Linked DNA regions of Homo sapiens: region 1 is linked to region 2. Evidence: promoter capture Hi-C in human tissues and cell types (Jung and others, 2019). All regions are on one chromosome and are shown on one strand. Each heading gives the region's core, a stretch centred on a gene start or on the middle of the fragment in contact. The rest is flanking DNA. Distances are from core to core; before and after follow the strand shown. Region 1 overlaps TMTC1 (transmembrane O-mannosyltransferase targeting cadherins 1). Region 2 holds the start of TMTC1 (transmembrane O-mannosyltransferase targeting cadherins 1).

The links. The method cuts DNA at HindIII sites, captures the fragments that hold promoters and counts their contacts. A contact is called where the count stands out against the background at its distance.
Region 1: a contact is called between a fragment that was not itself captured here and the fragment with the promoter of TMTC1 in region 2, in 2 of the 25 tissues and cell types used here (IMR-90 fibroblasts and heart left ventricle).

What each region holds. Positions count from the first base shown.
Region 1 is chr12:29,601,407-29,608,402 of GRCh38, forward strand. It overlaps TMTC1 (transmembrane O-mannosyltransferase targeting cadherins 1), which reads right to left. Exons shown (of 18, transcript NM_001193451.2): 7 at 2,772-2,893. Among named protein-coding and RNA genes, the nearest start is that of OVCH1, 110 kb to the left of the region's middle. The HindIII fragment of the contact is 6,331 bases long and covers 603-6,933 here.
Region 2 is chr12:29,779,442-29,786,140 of GRCh38, forward strand. TMTC1 (transmembrane O-mannosyltransferase targeting cadherins 1) reads right to left here and starts at 4,501. Exons shown (of 18, transcript NM_001193451.2): 1 at 4,009-4,501. The coding sequence starts at 4,310. The HindIII fragment of the contact is 32,748 bases long and covers 1-6,699 here.

The DNA of each region.
Region 1 (6,996 bases), core at 2,518-5,017, 180 kb before region 2:
CTAAACTAGATGACACTTTGCTGAGCTTACAAATCTTTGTCACCCAGAACCCCCAGCTCCTGAAGAACTAGATATTAGGGCTCTTAGAAGCTTGATCACCACATGAGTTGAGCCGAAAGTCCATTACTATGTGTAGATTTTCTTCTTATTTTGTAATTGAGAAGAATACTAAGATGTTCCTATCAGGGAAGCAATATAGTCTGGAAGGTAAGAGATCTGTAGTAGACAGGGATGTGTTTTCCAGCTCTGCCACTCACCAGCTATACCGCTTGGGGCAAGTTAACCAACCTCTCAGAGCCCAGGTTTTATTTTTGTAAAATAGCAATAATGTTATCAGCTACCTCAGGGAACTGATATCACAATAAAAATACTTAGTATTTATTGACCATATATAATGCAAAACACTTTCTAAGTTTTATATATAATCATCTCTTTTTTTTTTTTTTTTTTAGACGGAGTCTTGCAGTCTCCCAGGCTGGAGTGCAGTGGCGCGATCTCAGCTCACTGCAAGTTCCGCCTCCCGGGTTCACACCATTCTCCTTCCTCAGCCTCCAGAGTAGCTAGGACTACAGGCGCCCGCCACCGTGCCTGGCTAATTTTTGTATTTTTAGTAAAGACGGGGTTTCACTGTGTTAGCGAGGATGGTTTCGATCTCCTGACCTCGTGATCTGCCCGCCTCGGCCTCCCAAAGTGCTGAGATTACAGGCTTGAGCCACCGCGCCTGGCATCTCATGTTTTTAAATTTATTTTTTCTGAGACAGGGTCTGGTTCTGTCACCCAGGCTGGAGTGCAGGGGCACGATCATGGTTCACTGCATCCTCAACCTTCCGGGCTCAAGAGATCCCCCACCTTAGTCTCCTGAGTAGCTGGGACCACAAGTGCATCCCACAACATCTGGCTAAGTTTTTGTTATTTTCTGTAGAGGCAGGGTCTCACCATGTTGCCCAGGCTGGCCTCAAACTCCTGGGTTCAAGTGATATACATGCATCAGCCTCCCAAAGTGCTGGGGCATGAGCCACTGCACCTGGCCCTATAACGGTTTCATTTAATGATCACAATATGTCATTGAGTTGGGTGCTATTACTATTTCCATTTTATGCAGATGAGAAAACAAGCTTAGAGGAATCACGATCATGTTTAAGCCAGAGTTTGAATGCAGGCCCTCTGACTTCAGGGGCAGGCTGTGACCCACTACTACAGTGTGAATTACTTGACATAAAGAATATAACATGCTTATAATAGTAAGTGAAATATAATAAAAATGCAATAAAATTTTGATGCAATTAATGACAAAATAGCATTAATGAATACAATAGTATTTATAAAATATTAGGACCTATTAAACGCTTAATATGAGAGATTCCATTTTGTTAATTGGCAGTTAACTCTTTGAGGGCAGACACTGAGATTCACTTACTTGTGTAGCACTAGATTTTAGTAGAGCATTTATGGCAGAGGGGCTCTATGAATATCTATCAAATGAAGAATGATTCCATTGGAATCATCAGTACTACAAAGAAAAGCTAAGATATATTCAACTGGTCTAAGCAAAAACATATTTAGAACACAGATTGATGCCACTTTTTGGTCTTCTATACTACAGGTGTATTCCCTATTATTGGCAAGCCTTCACAAGACTCTTACCTTAAACCACGTAGAATATAAAGAATTGTGTTGTATTTCTGTCCTTATTGAATAGTATTTATCAAGCACTCATCTCCTTCCCAAATTGGGCTGAAGACACAGTAAACAATTAAGGGCTGCTTTCCCCTTAACCAAGTCAAAACCACATGCTGCAAAGTGTTAAGAAAGCTATTAGGTATTTGGTTTGAAGGAATCAAAGATTATGAAATTCACTTCTAATTATAAGTGTTTTAAAATTTCTAGTACAATATCATAAATAAAAAACACTCATTTCCTCCTAACATTTTGGTTTATGATACTGCCTTTTAGGAAAGTTCATACTTATAGAAGAAGAATGAACTTTCCTAAAAGGCAGTATCATAGTCCAAAGTGTTAATTTTAGCGAGTTTACTAAAATCTCTATTGTAAAAATGAGAAAATCTGGGGGCAAAAAAAGCTTTGTGTCTTGTTCAAGGTCAGTCAACCAATAAATGGCAGAACCAAGACTTGGTTTCCTGATTCAGTGACATTTTCAAGCATCTGAAAAGAAAAGTGGCCTTGGAACAATGACATTGGAATAAGACAAGAGAACAGACAAGCTTCAGCACAGTTCAAACATTCAGAGCTAAGTGGCATTATGTAATCACACACATTTGAATGTCTTTTCTAGTTTTTAAATCATTGTTCTTTTCCCAAGGACAAATTTTCTTGAGATTGCTTCCATTTTTAAATTGAAGAAAAAAGAACGAACAAAAGAAGTTAATTACAATCATGCTACTGAACATAATACTTTTATGCAAGTCAAAAAACATTTCTAGAAAAGTATTATAATTCTGTTTAATAACACCCATTTAGACATAGATGTAGTGATAAATGATTACTACTAAAATCCTGAATATACTCAAGTTAATATTTCACATTTAAACTATAAAGTTTGCAACTGAAGGTAAACCACTGTAAACAAGAGTACATGTGTGGACATTTGCTCTCATCCAACCTTCTGTGTGGCTGTTTTTAAAGCTGAAATAATAATATCCCTTGTCCCATGAGGATCTAATGGTCTACACACAGAAGACTGTCTCTCTGGAACTATCAATGTTGGTGACAGAGGGCAGGTCTTGTAGGAGGAAGTCACGTGCAATAGTTACCTAGGCATGTAAAGGACTCTCTCCGCCACCACAAAACCCACCCTGAAGAAGAGGTTGCTGGCTGGAATGAACGGGAACACCAGGAACAACAAGCCGACTAAAACCTCCTTGTGCTCCAGTCTCTGAAACACACAATAGTGAAGGAAACATTAACTTCTGTTGAATTCCACTTCAGGCAGCATTTAACCATCTCCTTCACTTTCAGGTTCTCAATGAAGAAATGAATAAATTAGACCAATATAAACCTTTTGACCGGCGTGCTGAATTTAACAGAGAAAGCTGACGGGCTAAAATGGCTGGCATGTCAAAACATACACATGTACCCTGACACACATTTGCCACCCAGAAACATGGATATTGGCCCACTACAGTCAGTGACCGCTACCTGTTGTTTAGGGCTGGATTTACAGCAACCCTGCTTCTTGGTTCTGGCTCCGTTCAGAATCCCTGTCTTTCCAGACACCCCATTCTCAAAGAGCAAAGCAACTGGCTAAAATCAAATGCAGTAAGGCACTGCAGAGAATTTAATTATATCTTCCCAAAATATAATGTATTTTCTTTAAAAAATTCACCAGGAGAAGCAAAGTTTAACATCAAGAAAATCAAATACTAATGATAAAATTTGGGATGCCAATGGAGAGAGAATCATTTGAATTGAAGCATACCTTCACACCTCTCAAATTAGGCTGGCAAGCGAGTATTTACTCCATTGATTTTTTGAATAAAAAATCGTTATAATAATTCATTAAATTGACAAAGAACCTCCTCTGTTATTATATATCTTTATTTGCAAAGATTTTTATGTCACTTATAATTAACAGAAAAAAACTTCTGTTTATTACTGATAATATGTTGCAATGACATTGTAAAAACTCATTTGTATTTCCATGTGTATTTATGGTATAGACACATTTGAAGAGAGTTATATTTAAAACAAAACTTAATGTACTGGAGAATATGTATTTTTTAAGTTTAAGAAAAAAACCAAATAGACTGTCCATATTTCAACTTTTAATGTTTCCTTTAAACATTTTAAAGTCTATTATTTTTAATAATTGGAAAAGAATAAGTAAAAGAATTTCATAAATGTAAATAAAACTCCCTAATAAAAGCTACAAATACTTTAACTATACAAAGTATAACGATTTTAAACATCTTGGGATACTTGTCACCTTGATGTTATTAAAATATTTGTTTTACGGACTAAAATATATAGGGTAATACAATTTCTGAGAGTGATTCCATATGATTTGGACAGTTGCCCTTAAATAATTAATGGATCTATAAGTAATGATCTCATTTTGACCTAAAGGAACCAGAATTTAAAGGAAGAAAAAAATAGATTATGTAACAAGCCTTCAACTCATGATCTACCAAAACTGACCAAAAAGGGTAAAAAAAAAAAAAAAAAAAAAGAACAAATTCATTTTATTTAAAAGCTGCAAGCTATCTTTTTAATTTAGACTATACTTTGGGTTTAGAAAGTACATTTCAATTTGAGAATTTAAACTGTATAGTTTATTTATTTGTTTAAATTTAAATTTTTATTTTCAATTTGGGGTACATGCGCAGGTTTACTACAAGGGTATATTGTGTGATGCTGAGGCTTGGGCTTCTATTGTTTCTGCCACCCAGAGAGTGAAAATCGTACCCAATAGCAAGTTTTTCAGCCCTTGCCTCCCTTTCCCCTCCCTCCTTTCAGAGTCTCCAATGTCTATTGTTCCCGTCTTTACGTCTGTGTGTACCCAAGGTTTAGCTCCCACTTATAAGTGAGAATATGTGGTATTTGGTTTTCTGTTTCTGTGTTAATTCGCTCAGGATAATGGCCTTTAACAGCCTCCATGTTGCAGCAAAAGACATGATTTTGTTCTTTCTTATGGCTGCTTAGTATTTCATGGTGTATATGTACTACAATTTCCTTATCCAATCCACTGTTGACGAGTATCTAGGCTGATTCCATGTCTTTGCTATTGTGAAAAGTGCTGTGATAAACACATAAGTGCAGGCATCTTTTTGGTAGAATGATTTTCCTTTGGGCATACACCCAGTAGTGGGATTGCTGGGTTGAATGGTAGTTCTATTTTTTAATTCAATGAAAAATCTCCAAACTTATTTCTGCAGTGGCTGAACTAATTTGCATTCCCACCAACACTATATAAGCATTACCTTCAAGTACATAATTTTAAAAAATCTTCACAAGAATCCTGTATATCAAGAGCAAGTATTTCTTCTTACAATTGAAAACAGACCCCAAATAAAGAGTGTCTTGTCAAATGTTCCTCATTCACTCTGAGCTTATTATTGGGTAGTAAGTTGCTATTCCCTTTTTATAGGTGCACTTTTATAGAGATAGTTGATTACTTCTTTTCATGCTTCGAAAGCTAAAATACTTTTTTACAAAATTATTCACGTCTTCCCAAAGAAGTTTCTAAAGAGAATGTAATACACCCTAGTAATTCATCCTAAGAATTAAGAATTAAGAGTGCAGGTATAAACAGAACAATGATCAGGCTGTTATCCATGTCCCTAGATACTGTTTTACCCAATGAGCCACCCCACGGCCCCTCATCAAGGTTATTGGGAAAGAGCCCTCACTGGGAATCTGAAAGAGGCTTCTCTCTATATCCCCAGCATCACACGTTCTTACCCTTCCAACGCACCTTCCTCACTACGGTGGGTGTTCACTTTCTTTTTTTTTTGAGACTGAATCTGGCTCTGTCACCCAGGCTGGACCAGGTTGGGAGGTGCCTTCATCTCAGTGGTGGGTGTCAGTTGGGAGCACAGCCAACCTTCCTGCCCCCCCCCCTCACTCACGGACACCCGTAGTGAGCAGGATGCCCATGGCACTGATTGCTGTTGGGGATGCGGAGATGGGGGGAGAGTCAAGGAGCGATCAGCCTCCCCCAGAAATCTGATGTGCACATGGAAAAGCCACAGGGCTGCGTGTTCATCTGTTCCTCCACCAGTTTCTTCAGACACCAGCACAGTCTTTATTTCCTTCATGACATCACTCTAGTTGTAATTACGTGTGTATCTGGGTGTTTACTGCCTTTATTGTCTGTCTGCCTCACTAGAATGTGAGCTCCATGAGCACAGAGTGCTCCTGACTTGTGTTCACTGGTGAACGACTTTTGCTTAGCTCAGTGCCCGGTGTGAATATTTGCTGAATAAATCAATTAAGTGAATAAATGTATCAGGCAGGATACAGAGGAAAAAACTGGGTAGAAGAAGGGGAGCAGGCAGAGAGGGCTTTTTGGTGGAGGTGACATCTGGGCTTGAAATATCAATAAACGTTTACAAGGAAGACAAATTTGGGAATGAGGGGTGGTCACAGCTAGGCACATTCTTGGGAGAAGATATGGAATGTACAAAGCAGGCAATAAGACTAGTCATGTCAGCAAGTGGATAATGAGCGTTTTGCACACTTTGCTATGGAACTGACCTTCACCTAATGGCAGTGACTAAAGGGTCCCTTATGCATAGAAAGAAACGTGAGTGAGTGTTCAGGGTCCACATCCAGACTCAGGTAGTGACCCTGCCACCGATACACCATTGGTACTTGGACAGGCAATATTATCCCTTCCATCCTCAAGGTGCCTCAACTATAAAAGGAGGCAAGTATGCCTGAGCGTTGAATGTAGTTGGGTCATTACAAAGATTTCTTGAAAACCTGAAGTCCATTTTTTGGGCGTTGTGAGCTATGAGCTTACACACAGCCCGCCACCCTACATTGCTAATCTTGTGGGGTGTTTTCCTTTGTTTTTAAAACAGGAAATGGAAGACAGTGGCACAGTGCCCAAACTCAATAAAGTTTCATTGTTTTATTTCATTTTGAGAAAATTAATACTCATGAAAAAATTTCTATTTTCAAATTAAATGGATGACAATACGCTTTGTCTTTCCTCATCCCCATTCAGTCAAGAGAGATTAAAAATATTCAAGAACAACATACTTATTTGAAAAACATATCAATCTGCCAAGCAGAGACTTGTAAAGTTGGGAAAAAAAGTGCATCATGGACATGGCTAAATTTTCTAGAATGAGACAGACTAGGAGGGAACCCGATTCTGTATCCTGTGGATCACTGATGTGACAAAATTGGCTAAATAATTTATAGCTTCTTTTAGCCTAGTAGATTCAATAATACCCTAACAAAATATGAGGAGAAAAAAGAGGAAATTCATGGTATTTTCCAAAGTACACATGGTCATTCATTTTTAGGACA
Region 2 (6,699 bases), core at 3,251-5,750:
GTAGATGGTCTGCAACCCATTTCCTCATTTCAAATTTTAGTTCATTTCTTACTTGAAAAAATACATAATTAGTATCTTTACTACCTAAGCAAGCACTTTTATTATTTATTAGTATACAAGCAACCACCTTTATAGCAAAAAGTATTATGCATCTATAAATTACATTTATTCTTAAGGAAATTTCTAGCTCTCAGTATGCGTAAGATACATTCAATGAATCAAAAATCAACTTACATTTTAATAAAAAATATGTTTGGAGTATTGCACTGAGAAAGGTCCTGTGAGGAGGACAAAAAGACAAGCTACAGAGTGGGAGAAAATATTTACCAATCACATACTTGACAAAGTACATGTATCTAGAATATATAAAGAACTTCAATACTCAACATTTAAAAAAAACACTTAAAAATGGACAAAAGACACAAAGGCACATTTACCAAACTCTTTGGTTTAATATCAGATGTTCAATAGCTTCACCCATTAGGGAATGGTAAATTAATGAGGTACATATATAGGTGTGATATCACTACATACCTATCAAAATGGCTACAGTAAAAAACAGCAACAATACAAAGTGCTGGCAGAAATGCACAGAAACTGGATTACTCAGACACTGCGGCTAGGAACATCTGGAAAACAGTATGGCAGCTTCATATAAAGCATATGAACATGCAGCCACCATATGGCCCAGCAATTGGACTCCTGGGCATTTAGAACAGAGAAATAAAAATCTATGTTTACATAAAAACCTGTAAGTGAATTTTTATAGCAGCTTTATCCCAGCCAAAAGTTGGAAACAACCTAGATGTCCCCAACAGGTGAATGGTTATACAAACTGTGGTATATCCATACAATGGAATACAACTCAGCAATAAAAAGGAACAAACTATGGATACATGCAACAGCCTGAATGAAGATCCAGAGACATGCTGAGTGCAAGAAGCCAATCTCAACAGGTTACATACTATGTGATTCCATTTATACAACAGTATTAAAATGGCAAAATGATAATGGAGAACAGATTCATGGTTGTTATGGATTTGGGTGAGGGGATTATGGATTAGGCAGTTGTTATAGATTAGGTGTCCATGATTGCAATAAAGAAGTACTGAGGATCCTTGGGATGGAATTGTTCCGTATCTTGACTGTGGAGGTACTCTCTGAAATCTACACATATGATAAAGCTGCATAAAACTAAATACACACTTAGTAAAATAAAAAAAATAGAAGTACATATAAAATGGGTGAAATCTGACTAAATGCTGTAGATTGCATCAATATCAATTTCCTGGTTGTAATATTATACCATAATAATACAGGATGTTACCATTGGGGGAAATGGATAGAGTAGAAGGAATCTCTCTATTATTACTTAAAACTGCATGGGAATGCACAATTACATTAAAAAAGTTTTTAAAACGGGTTTGAAATCTCAAAGTTTTTGCTCAAACAAGCATAATTTAAGATACAGTTAAAATGGTTTGCACATATTTAAAGGGCCCCTTCAATTGTGTTTTCACTATCTAAAATAAAAATCATAAAGACGTAATCTATGTGAAGTATCTAGGCCAATGCTTGGTTCATAGCGAATAGTTAATAAATACGGCTTTCTGTCCTTCCTTGTACCATCCTGTAGAGTTGTATGGTTCTAAAATCACTGATATCCTCCAGCTTCATGCTATACCTCAGGTGAATATAAAGAAAACTGTCCAGTCTTATTTAAATCAATGCATGTGAGGACAGAAAGACTACTTAACATTCTCTTTCTGAAGAGGCAGTTATCTCTTTCCAATTAGTGCTGTGTTTCTCTTCTAGATTTGCAACTCAATCTTCTCAAAAAAAGAGTGTATCTTTCATAGGCAGTAGCATATAATATACAGCAAGCCATGCCTCTTAGACACCAAGCTGCTTGTTACAATCAATGATTACCACAAGAGTCCCTCAGCTCTCTTCCTCCTGAATCCCCCAACTCTCCTTTGCCCTTGTTCTGTCAACTCCTAGCCAATTTTCCTCTTAATCAATGGTCTTACTTCTTTGTCTACTCCCTCCACCCCTCCCTTATGTGCCTGCTGTCTCCATTATGAAGAAAAATAAAACATTTTAGGTGAGGTACAGTAGCTCATGCCCACAAGTCCAGCACACTGGGAGGCTGAGGCTTAAAGATCGCTTAGCCCAGGAGTTCAACACCAGCCTAGACAACATAGGAAGACCCCATATCTACAAAAAAAATTTTAAAATATATCTGGATGCACGGCATGTGCCAGTAGTAGTTCCAGCTACTTGGGAGGCTGAGGCAGGAGAATTGCTTATGCCCAGAAGTTTCAGGCTACAGTGAGCAATAATCATGCCACTGCACTCCAGGCTGGAGGACAGAGTGAGATCCCATCCCAAAAAAGAAAAAAAGAGAAAAGACAGAGAAAAAAGAAGAAAACCTTCTAGAAAGTCAAGAAGTGAAAACACCCTTCCCTACTCTCCAGCAAGTAGGCACAGGCATTTGACTCTGCCCTTTTTAATTGAAAAATACTCAGACCTGTGACCAGGATGGTCTCCATGGCTGTTACAAAGATAGCAAGCACATCTCATGCTGTGAACTTGCACATCCTAAATTAACCAACAACCCTGACTGTAATAATGAAAAAGCAGGTCAATCTAGAAGTGAAACATTTATATTTGTCCCAAGGAGATTTTAAGAAACATCTGGGAAACTGAATAGCGAGGTTAGCCAAGGTTATCTTTCAGTAGAAAACGAGAACAACTTTCTAAGAGAACAAATGTCTATAACACATTCTCTTCAAAGTCAAATATGTAATTTTCTCACTCTCCTTAAAAACATTAAACTTTCAGTGGAAGACGTAAGTCAAAAGCCCATGAATTGTTGCCGATTGCTATGGTTTCCTTTTCTGAGTCATCAGAGACACCTGTCAAGAGGCCTCAGCCTCTCATCCAGAGCAGGCTTTTCAAGCTGCCAACCCAGTCTCAAATAATCATTACCATAAACACGGGTTCCTATTACACCCGTTGCAAAAAGGCTTAAAACGCCGATAATAGCGCACCAATATTATTTCAACAGTTTTGACCGGCGCGTTAAAATGAACTTCAATGCTGAGCCACATTATAAAGGGTTGAGTCAAGCTCCTGATTGTGTAAGATAGCATTTCCCTTAAATGAGCACTTCTCTTCTTTCCTCAGAAGCTAGGCTTCTTTTCAAATTAAAGAAAATACTCCACCCCTCAAAAACCTGGCATATTCTCGGTTCCCTTTACGCTTATTCACACCAGAAACGCTGAATCATGACTCCGAGGTTGTAAAAGAAAAACTATTTCGGCTGGGGCCCCAGGGTCCCTGGAGAAGCCTAGGCTCTGCGTTACCTCTCTCTGCACCTTCTAAAGTCTAGATCCAGAGAAGTCTGGCAGATTGGAGAGCCTCTGGGAGCAGCCAAGGGTGCAAGGCGGGGGCTGGGGGGCTCGGGAGAGTTTTCTGCTCCCTCTCCTGAACCCACGCAGCCCTGTCAGCTCAAGGCTCCCGCCTCGTCTCATCTGAACGAAACCCTTAAGGGGCTGATACACTTCTCATCTGCAAAGCTGCCCAACAGCCTCCGAGAAATTCTCTACTTGGAAGCATCGCCACCACCGCCACCCCTCCGGAACCCTCTGGGTCCGCGCTAGTCCCACTTGGTCACGATCCGGCAGGCGAAGGGGTGCGGAGGCGGTTTCACCAGCCCGCTCCCAGCCCTGCCTCGAGAGAGAAGCCCGCTGAGAGGGCAGACAGTTGAGAAACTCGATCCCAACTCCCCAGCCGGCGCCTCCCGAACCGCCCCGAGAGCCCAGATTAGCCGGGCAGTGGATCCCGGAGCAAAGTGCCATGCACATCCTGGAGAGGAGGGAGGCGTGGAGGGAAAGGGCGGCAAAAATGAAATGCCCCCAAGTCAGTCCCGCAACTTCTCCCGGTCCGAGGGACGGGCGGAGGGTAGAGGAGGCAGCGGCGGCTAGCGCGAGGTGAGGGACTCACTTGAAGGTGAGGACGCAGAGCGGCCGGTAGGACTTGTGGCTGGTGTTCTCGGCCATGCCCTTGCCCCAGAAGTCGTTGGTGAAGATGCCCCAGCGGAGCGGGGCGCCGGGCCGCACGTCGGGGTTGTTCACGATCGCCCACACGTCGTCGTGCACGAACTCGCCCTGCAGGGAGCGGCCGTAGCACAGGCAGCTTGCCCCGGCCAGCAGCGCCGCGGCCCCGGCCGGCGCTAGCCCGCAGCCCCGCCGCCGGGAGGGTGTGCGGTCCCCGCCGCCGCCTCGGGCAGAGGTGGTCACCACCATCGCGCCGCCGCCGCCGCTGCTGCCCTGGCCTCTCCCGGGCGTCTGGCATCCTCCCCTACCGGGGCCCCGGCGGCGCGCGGCGTCTGCCCGGAGGGGGGCTCGGGCATGGTGCTGCGGCAGCTGGACCCGCCGCGAGCTCCCCGCGCTCCGCCGCCGCCTGCGCCGCGGAGTTGGCCCAGCTGCAAATAAACAGCAGTCCCCCCGCCTCCCCCGGCCATCGCCACCTCCTCCGCCCCACTGCGCATGCCCGCTCGCTCTCTCTTCCACCGCCCCCCAATCCCGGGACGCGGGCCGGTTCCCCCGCACAGCCCGGCGCCCTCTGCCCCCGGCCCGCCTTGCTTGCAGGTGGACCGGGGTTCGCGGCGCGCGGCTGCCCGGGAGCTGCGGGGAAGGACACCCCAGGTTCCCACTTGCGGTGTCCGGCTGTGCTCACCCCCACGCCCCCGCCCCCATCCTTCTCCCCCGAATGGGGCTGGGAAGGGGCACATCTGGCGGACCCCTCCCGGGGGACCCAGGAGGGTTTAGCAGGTGCGCAGTCTGGAACCCCCACACCCACCTTCCAGGGAGAAAAGTGCCGCTGCTTCCCGGGAAGTTCCCGGCTTTTCAGCACCCGGGACAACAGCAGCGGCGCCCGGAGAGACGCTCTCCACCCGCCCCGCGCTCGCGTCCAGTCGCCGGCTCTGTGCTCTCCTGCCCGGGCTTTCTCTCACCCGCCCGGCGCGGCGTCCCGCTTGGCGGAGGAACCCGCGGGGATAGGGAGCACCTTCCTCAAAGCCAGGAGAAGGGGTCTCCCTGGACAAGGACATCCTGCTCGCCCTGCCCGGGTGTGTTCAGAGGCGCCACCGGCTCTTTAACTTTACAGCCCCTTTCTTGGCCCGCACTTACAAAAAGTACCAGGTTCGAGTTTTGGTTTGGGCCTGGGAGCCGAATTGTCTTCTGAAACATTTCTTATTTTATTGTTTGCTCAAGATAATTTGGGAGATGCCAAGCAAACTACTTTTTCTATCTAGCTGGATCACTTGGGTCTCATTATTTCCTGGGCTGTGGGCGTGTTTGAACAGGGCGGGGAAGAAGGTGGGGATGGGGGGATGGGGAGGTGGGGGCGATTTGTATTAGGGCCTCTGGCTTTGGCTCCTAAACTTCCTGTCTTTCTGAAAGATTGTTTTCTTTTTTAAAATACTAATTTTAATAATATGTCCCAGAGTGATGATTACTAGAATTTCTCCAGGTCTGAAAATTCTATTTGTTCTTTCAGGCACCTTCTAAATTTCCATTGCTGAGTGTTAGAAGTTATCAGGAATTTGACACATCCAGATAGAAAAACTGAAAATAAAAAGTCACCCTTTTATTCTCATCCTCCCCAAACCCTTAAAAAGCTCACCGACATAATCCAGAAATTGTTCCTCTGCTATGAGTATTTGTGTGGCTCTTTACTATAACAACTTACTTTTTAAAAAATTTTAAGACATCTGAGCAGTTGAAAAGTCAATGAATTAAGATAAACTTATTGTAACTCAAAGTACGTTTCACCCATTTTCACTTTGTTTATTTGGTGACTTGAAATTAGTGACTGAGAAATGAAACTGGAAGTCCTGGACATGGATGTTTTCATTCTTCCATCAAAATCTTTCACGCTTGGTAACCTTAATATACCGACTTTAATATCTAGACACACCTGAGTCTATTTCCCCGTATAACACACTACAGCCTTTCCTATTCACCTATTAACTTAATAAAAATATATTAAGGAGATTCTTTGTGCTACAATGTGCTAAGTATAGGATTGGAAGACCCAAAGCTGCTCGTGTGTGTGCGTCTGTATGTGTGTGTGGTTAACACCATAAAAGTCTAGCTTTCTAAGTTAACAGCTGATTGGGATAGTGAAATTATCTTTGCTGAAATCATAGTTGAGGTAATAGGTCAATGTATCAATCCTTACCTATAATTAACGGAGGCTTTCTAGAGAGAACGTCTTAACCCAAAAGAGTGACTCTAGGCCAGGTGCAATGGCTCACACCCGCAATCCCAGCACTTTGGGAGGCCAAGGCAGGAGCGTTGCTTGAGGCCAGGAGTTCAAGACTGGCCTGGGCTACAGAGTGAGACCCTGCCTCAAAAAAGAAAAGAAAAGAGTGGCCTCTAATAGTAGATTTTTATAGAAAGAAAGTCTTTTTTCCTTCCTCAAATTATCCTTAAGTCATCCTTTTCCAAGGAAGAGCTCTGGCTACCCCCTTCTTCTCGGAGTTGTTTTCTTTTTTAGATGGAAACAGTATCAGAGTGCTCCATGACCATGGAGAGTAGTGCAGGACTTGGGACTGAGACTCCAAAGAGATCATAAAAAGAAGAGATAAAGGAAACCTGAAAGTAGGATTCCTGGTTACCTAATCTTTCC